Linked DNA regions of Homo sapiens: region 1 is linked to region 2. Evidence: promoter capture Hi-C in human tissues and cell types (Jung and others, 2019). All regions are on one chromosome and are shown on one strand. Each heading gives the region's core, a stretch centred on a gene start or on the middle of the fragment in contact. The rest is flanking DNA. Distances are from core to core; before and after follow the strand shown.

Region 1 (3,946 bases), core at 796-3,295, 85 kb after region 2:
CCAGCCTGGCCAAGATGGTGAAACCCCATCTCTACTAAAAATACAAAAAACTAGCCAGGTGTGTGGTAGTGCGCACCTGTAGTCCCAGCTACTCAGGAGTCTGAGGCAGGAGAATCGCTTGAACCCTGGACGCAGAGGTTGCAGTGAGCCAAGATCATGCCACTGCACTTGGCCTGGGCAACAGAGCAAGAATCCATCTTAAAAAAAAAAAAAAATCGTACAACTCCTGCATGCCTATGCACCAAATAACAGTTTGAAAAGACAAGTAGGCAAGTAGCAGAAACTCAAAGAATTGAAAGAAGTAATAGACAAATAATAATAATATTTAAAGACATCAACATTCCCCTCTCAGTAATTGACTAAACAAGTACACAGAAAATCAGTAAGGATATATAAAACCCAAACATCACTGTCAGCCAACTTAACCTAATTGACATTTATACAATACTCCAAAGAACAGAATGCACTATCTGCTCAAGTGTGCATGGTATAATCACCAACCTAAACCATGCACAGGTCAGAAATTTTATCACAGCAAATTTAGAAGAGCTGAATCTATAGGAAATATGTTCTCTGATTATAACAAAATTAAACATAACAATAGAATCTAGCATCTTTTAATGGTTTGAAATTAGAGAACATACTTCTAAATACCTATGGCTAATAAAAATCAAAATAAATGAGAAAATAGTGAAGTAAATTAAAATTAAAATATAGCATACTAAATGTTTTGGAATACTACTGCAGCTTAGAAATACATAGCTTTAAATGCCCGTATTAGAAAAGTCCTAAAAATCATTAAGCTTCAATCCTAAGAAACTAGAAAAGGAAAAAGCAAAGTAAGCCCAAAGAAAGTAGAAGAAAGGAAATAGTAAAAACAAAAGCAGAAATCAATGATACAAAACAGACAATAGAGCAAAGTGGTGCAACCAAAAACAGATCATTTGAAAAGATGAATGAAAGTAAGCAACTTTTAGCTAGACTTATCAATATAAAAAAGAGGACACAACCTACTAATATCAGAAAAGAAAGTGGGAGCATAACTACATGCACTACAAACTTTAAAAATTATAAGGGAATGTTATAAATATTTTTTATTAATAAGTTCAGAAATAAGTTAGAAATCTAAATAGCCTATGTCTGCTGAAGATAATGTATTTATTATTTAGAAATTAAAATGTTCAAACTTCATTGGCTTCATTGGCAAATTCTAGGAAATATTTAAGAAAGATGTAATGACAATCCTACAGAAAAATCTTTCAAAAATTACAGGAGAAAGGAACACACATGGAACCTTGCTTTCTGAGGTCAGCATCGCACTAATACAAAAACTAGGCGAGAAAAGGCAAACATACACCAAAACACTCATGACCTTAGGCACACACATTTTTAATAATAATATTGGGCAATCAAATGCAGTAACAGGTAAAAAGTATAAGCAAAATGACCAAGCAGTGTTTATCCTAGGAATACAAATATTGCTTAACATTTGAAAAATCAATGTCATTTATCATGTTAAAAGAGTAAAGGAGAAAATTAATGATTATCTCATAGATACAAAAAAAAGCATCTGATGAAATTGCATACCTTTCTTGATAAAGACTCTCCATTAAACTAGGAATAGTAGGCAATTTCCTTAATCTGATAAAGAGGATCTGCAGAACTTCCTTACACTTTTTTTTTTTTAGTTTGAAGTCATAACATTGCAGAAAACTTTTCTCACATATCTTAGTGTGGTTTCATACATACAAAGAGCCTTTCAGTGTTATTACAATCCAACCATCAAAATATCAGGAAATAGATACTGTTAAATTATTGCCATTCAATCTTTACACCCCATTTAAGATCAATCAATTGCCTCATTAAAATATTTTACAGCAAAATGATGGAGTCCAGAACTATGCATGCATTAAGAATTCCTGTCTCTGGTTTACTTTCGTTTGGAGTAGTTTATCAGTCTTTTCTGGTGAGAGGTGACAGCGTGCTGGCAGCACTCACAGCCCTCGCTCGCTCTCGGGACCTCTTTGGCCTTGGCGCCCACTCTGGCCACGCTTGAGGAGCCCTTCAGCCCGCAGCTGCACTGTGGGAGCCCCTTTCTGGGCTGGCCAAGGCTGGAGCTGGCTCCCTGAGCTTGTCGGGAGGTGTGGAGGGAGAGGCGCGGGCGGAACCGGGGCTGCCTGCGAGGCTTGCTGGCCAGCGTGAGTCCTGGGTGGGCGTGGGCTCAGCGAGCCCCACACTCGGAGTGGCCAACCGGCCCCGCGGGCTCCAGGCAGTGAGGGGTTTAGCACCTGGGCCAGCAGATGCTGTGCTCGACTTCTCGCCGGGCCTTAGCTGCTTCCCCGTGGGGCAGGGCTCAGGACCTGCAGCCTGCCATGCCTGAGCCTCCCCACCTTTGCCTTGGGCTCCTGCACAGCCGGAGCCTAGCAGATGAGCGCTGCCCGCTGCTCCATGGTGTCCAGTCCCATTCAGCACCCAGGGGCTGAGGAGTGCGGGTGCATTGCATGGGACTGGCAGGCAGCTCCACCTGCACCCCCGTGCGGGATCCACTGGGTGAAGCCAGCTGGGCTTCTGAGTCTGGTGGGGACTTGGAGAACCTTTATGTCTGGCTAAGGAATTGTAAATACACCAATTGGCACTCTGTATCTAGCTCAAGGTTTGTAAACACACCAGTCAGCACCCTGTGTCTAGCTCAGGGTTTGTGAATGCACCAATTGACACTCTGTATCTAGCTACTCTGGTGGGGACTTGGAGAAGCTTTGTGTGGACACTGTATCTAGCTAATGTAGTGGGGAGGTGGAGAACTTTTGTGTCTAGCTCAGGGATTGTAAATGCACCAATCAGCACCCTGTCAAAATGGACCAATCAGCTCTCTGTAAAACAGACCAATTGGCTCTCTGTAAAGTGGACCAATCAGCAGGACGTGGGTGGGGCCAGGTAAGAGAATAAAAGCAGGCTGCCCTAGCTGGCAGTAGCAACCCGCTTGCATCCTTTTCTGTAGTGTGGAGGTTTTGTTCTTTTGCTGTTTGCAATAAATCTTGCTGCTCCTCACTCTTTGGGTTCATCCTGGCTTTATGAGCTGTAACACTCAGTGTGAAGGTCTGCAGCTTCACTCCTGAAGCCAGTGAGACCACGAACCCACGAGAAGGAAGAAACTCTGAATACATCTCATCATCAGAAGGAACAAACTCTGGACACGTTGCCGTTAAGAACTGTAACACTCACCACGAGGGTCTGTGGCTTCATTCTTGAAGTTAGTGAGACCAAAAACCCACCAATTCTGGACACAATGGAATTTGCACTTTTGGATTATTATAGGGTTATTATGTTGTAGGAACTCTCTTAATTTGGGTTTGTCTGATGTTTTCTTGTGATTGGATTTAGCTTGTATATTTTTGTGAAAATGACAAACTGATATAATCTTCTCACTGCATTATATCATGAGATGCATAATTTTGAGATACCTCATTTTTTAAATTTGTTCATATAGATCTGTTGATTAAGGTAGTATTGGCCCAGCTGAATTATAAATATACTATTTTTAAATTATAATTAATTTTATAGTTAATTTTATAATTTTGTGAAACACATACTTAAATGCTATGTAATATATTACCGTTAATGATCAAAATATATCATTCATGATCAAACACAATGTGTATGAACTCTAATTTTCCAATTTTTTCCTTTGGGTTGTAATTCATTATTTTAGGGTTGTAATTCATTTTTTTTAAATTTTTACTCAAATCATCCCAGAATTAGGCAGTATAAAAACATTCAAGCTGGATTTTGTGTCTTTTTGACATGTTCTCATCATTCTTTGAACACCTCCTTGCTCTGCCACAAGTGTTCCAATCCTATCTTACACTTTCCCTGTCTGTCTCTGGAAGTATCCATTTTCCCAAGTAGCTCTGGTTCCTTTCAGTAGAAAATAGTATGGAGAAGCCAA
Region 2 (4,333 bases), core at 530-3,029:
GCGACTGTATTTTGTATCCGTCAAATCCACAAGTGTAGTAATTTTACCTTTCTGAAATATCTGCCACGCCACGCGTTCAAAGCCAGCAAGCTACTCCTCTCTCTGCAAGGCACTGAGAAAGTACGTGGAAAGAAGTGGGGAAAAGCACATTTAAGAAACAGGTTTTCTGCAGGATCACAATACTGTGACAACTGCCTATAAAAGAGTGTGGCTACTTTCCCGGCATTCGGTCCCCGTGACTACATAACTTAAGCACTGCATCTGTGGAAGTCTCTCCACTCAATGCTGGACCCTAATTAATGTATTTGAGATCCAGGCAGACATTGTCCCTGGGCTCAACGACTAACCTTCCTGAAAACACGCATTTCTCAGTATGCGCATAACGCAAATAGGTGCTCACAGGCATCCGAACAGTATGCTTCGAAAAGAAGCATTTTCCCAAGAAGCCCCCCCAACCCCCATCCCCCGCAAACTCCGGAATTGGGAGACACAACAGGTACTTCCACCTCGGAAGCGAAGGCCTTCTGCGACTCCTGCCAAGAAGGGCAGGGTGCCATGCGGTGGTCGCCTGGGCGCGTCCGGGGGGCTCGTCGCGGGGCCCGGGCCAGAGCCAGGCGGCGAGCACGCGGCGCTGCATGCGGGAAACCCGGGCGGCGCCTCCCGCCGCCCCTCAGCCCCGAGCCAGGGACCCCCAGGAGAGGCTGCGCTCCCACGACCCTCCGGACCCCCACAGAGGCTCACCAGGGCCGGCGCGCCAGGGCAGGTGGGCGCGGGGGCTGCACTGCGGAGCCGCAGCCTGGGTCGCCCTGGCACCCGCGGTCGCCACCCGCGCGGTCCGCAGCGGCACGCCGAGGGTCTCCAGCTCCCCGGCCCTCCCCGGCTCGCTCCCGGCTTTCGCAGACTTCCCCTGCTCCTGCCCCGGGTACGAGCCAAGCGCTCCGCCAGGCAGCGCCTTCCTCCTGGGCTGGGAGCGCGCGGTGCAGCAGCGACTCCAAGTCCCCTGGCCTCGAGCAGCCCGCGCGACACGCGCGCGACACCCCCGCGGGGTCCGAGTCCACCCCGCGAGCAGCGCCGGGACGCCGCGCGCCTCAGAGCCCCGGGGCTGACGCTGGCTTTCCAGGTGGGCGATCTCACCCCTCCGGCTCCCGTGATGGTGGCAACGGGTGTCCCCCACCCCCAACCGGTCACCGCGCCCTGGTGCCCCGTCCGGCAGGGATGAGCCGCCCGGACCCCGCTCTCTCCCGCGCCCGGCTTCAGCCCCGCAGTCGCCAGGGTAAAGTTTGCGCTCTGGCCTGGCTGCGCGCCCCGCCTGCTCTGCACCTCTCCTCCCCGGCCACGCAGCCTGCCGCTCAGGCGCCCCGAGGAGAAGGGTGCGGACCGAGCCGGGGCGGCCGGTCCTCTTCCCCGCTCGCGTCCTCTTACCCCACTGCCCCGGCCCAGCGCGCCCAGGGCTCACCCTGCGCGCCGGCCCCGGGAGGCGAGCCGTCGGTGAGGATGCATCCTCCTTCTCCTCCGCCTGCTCTCGCCCGGCTGGCAGGCGCGGAAGGCCGGTGCGGCGTCACCGCCCCATGCTGCCAGCGCGAACTTCCCCGGCACTCCCGGCGGAGCGGCTCTTGCGCCCCGCGCTCCCGCCGCCGCCCTGCAGCTCCGCTCCGCGCCGCGCCCCGGGCCGCGCGCCGCCCGCCGCAGAGCCCCCCAGCGCCCCCGGCGCACTCGCGCCCGCTCTCACCTCGCCCGAGCGCCACATGTCGTCTCTGGGCTGGAGGATCGGCCCTCTGCAGAGGTGCTCCGGTAGAGGCCGCCAGACGCTCAGCAAATGCGCCCTTGGCCGAGCTGGGCGGAGGGGGAGGGCGCAGGGCCCCCGGCTCGGCCTGCAAGGGGAGAGGCCCTGTTCTGCTGAAGTTTCTCCAGGGCCCTCAACAGCATCTTCGGCGCCTCGTGTAGTCACCACCGCCCGCTTGTAGAGCAGGGATGGGAGGGCAGTGTCAGCAGTCGGGTGATAGAGGCCTGGACTCCGACAGCTTTGCTCCCTAGAGCCGGCCCCAACGCCTCCCTGCCCAGGCCTGGGTCCTTCCCGGGTGCTCCATGGCACCCCTTACATGCGCATCTCTTAGGCGCTTCTGAAAGAAGCTGGCCTGTGGACATTCTTTTCATCTCACTCATAGACAGGAATGCATAACTACGGGAGGGAAAGCCAGGGTCACATTGGACTCGATTAGAATGAAATCCTTACCTAACGCAGTGTATATCTGGGGGTTTTCTGAAGTTCCATTTCTTGACAACAAGCCGCAGTGGCAAACGGGAAAGGGCCAGGAGCCCTGGGGGCTGCAGGTCGGAGAGCGCCTCTGGGGTGACGGGGCGGGATCTCCCCAGCAGGGCTTCCGAGCCACGTCGGGTCACTGCCTCATTAGCCACGTACATGGGGTCTTACTATGGTCATTACGTCGGTGTGTCGTCCGTCCTAGTGGTGCAGTTCCTGGGAGGTGAGGGTGGCATTAATGACAACTGCGCGGCAGCAGGGCCCCTTCAAACAACACAAGTAAGAGCGCATCGTCTTGGGTTTGCCAGGTCTTGCTTCCTCAGGAGGTGGGGGACTCTCGACTATAACACCCAGTGGAAAACGTTCAAGACTCAAAGGAAAGCCACTGAAAACGTGATGGGGAGGTTTACTTACACCATTGTCCCATTCCTTTTGTGAAACTGCATTATTCATAATCTCTTTTAACAGAATAATGGTAAGTAAAGGCAAATTCCTAACTCCCCTCCAGGAAAGATCTTTGACCTTCCAGTGTAGGAAGCCTCTCATTTTTCCAGTTATCTCTAATACAGTGTATTCCAAATCTAAGTTACCTGTTAATACTTCTGCACATTCCAGAAATTCTGAAATTTTCTGAAAAACAAAACTTGTAAATCTATTCCAGGAATAGGACATAAATATACATAAATGTGCAAATATACAGGAAGTGTTTCTCTGAATATACATTTAGCCACACTATTAAATAACTGTTTCCAGTGGTTCTTCAGGAAATATGAATGAAATAAGATGCTAATTTGAATTTTCTAATTCTAAAATGGATCACTGAACGTATGCATTTCTTCATTTTCTAATTTCCCAAAAGATGTACCACTAGGGTGAAATTCCTTGGGAGACATTAAATTTTAAAAAGTTAACAACATGGTTTTATGATCAGCCTAATATAATTTTCACCTATTAGGTGTTGGAATTCTAACACCTAATACCAGCGACAGCTGCTCTTCTCTCAGGATTAAACAGCATAATGCAAATCAAAGAGTTGGAAGAATTGGTAAATTTTAAACTTCACAGCTTGTCACACAAAGTCATTCGGTGTGAGTTTGCAAAAATAAATGTATATAAACAAGGGATGATTTTTGTATTAGCGAGGGTTATAGACATTAATTCTTAATAATAAAAGAAATGTCAGCTGTAAGGAAATATGTTCTTTTGATGGATTATGTTTAAAACTTCCACTTTTTTTGGTACACTTTCTATCAGCTTTATGTCCACACAACACATATTATTGAATATATAAAAATCATTTTAAGTTAGAGTCATTCTTTAACATTGTATTTCAGCATGTTGCTTAAATTCTTTTCTCTTCCCTGTAATGAAACGGTATGCCACTCTCTCTCCTCCTAGTGTTTATGTAACATAACATAGCCTCACTTTAGATGGACTGCCCTGAGGGGACAGTGAAATCGTAAGGCCCATCAGAACCTTACAGAAACTCACATTGCTAGAAGAGTGCTTACTACCATTTCAATGATTTTTGTTTTACTATAGAATTCTGTATTTGTGCTGAGAAATAATAGGCTATCCGTTGAATTCCCATTTGTTTCATTAGCATTTTCTCTTCATTGAATGAAATTAAGCAATGTCGTGATCGTTGTGGAAGACAGTAGAGGGCACCCTAGTTCCACACAACCTCAGCCTTGGCCCGGGCTTCATAAGAATTTCATTTCCAGTGTCAGAGCCTAAAATAGCTGAAGGTGGGGAAGCTGGGCCATGAGTAGAACACGTGTTCACAGAGCACCCACCCTGTACCCCGGTCAGGGGCAGGAACTGAGACAGTGGCTGTGTTTGCGTGGTTGGGTGTGGTAAATGTGGCTGAGACATGAACACAGTGCCATGGTATAAGTGAGATCATGTGCTATTTGTCTTTCTGTGCTTGGCTTATTTCACCAAGCATGTTCTCCAGGTTCATCCATGTGGTCAAAAATGGCAGGATTTCCTTCTTTGTTAGGGCTAAATAATATACTGTCGTATATGTATGTTATACATATACGTGTGTGTGTGTGTGTGTGTGCGTGTGTG

Evidence for each region. Contacts are between HindIII fragments. The study calls those that stand out against the background at their distance.
Region 1: a fragment that was not itself captured here is called in contact with the fragment with the promoter of GABRA5 in region 2 in 3 of the 25 tissues and cell types used here (aorta, heart right ventricle and stomach).

Annotation. Positions count from the first base shown.
Region 1 is chr15:26,780,212-26,784,157 of GRCh38, reverse strand. No RefSeq gene overlaps it. Among named protein-coding and RNA genes, the nearest start is that of GABRB3, 9.1 kb to the right of the region's middle. The HindIII fragment of the contact is 3,496 bases long and covers 298-3,793 here.
Region 2 is chr15:26,864,508-26,868,840 of GRCh38, reverse strand. It overlaps GABRA5 (gamma-aminobutyric acid type A receptor subunit alpha5), which reads right to left and starts at 1,779. Exons shown (of 11, transcript NM_000810.4): 1 at 1,730-1,779; 2 at 48-112. The HindIII fragment of the contact is 20,920 bases long and covers 1-4,333 here.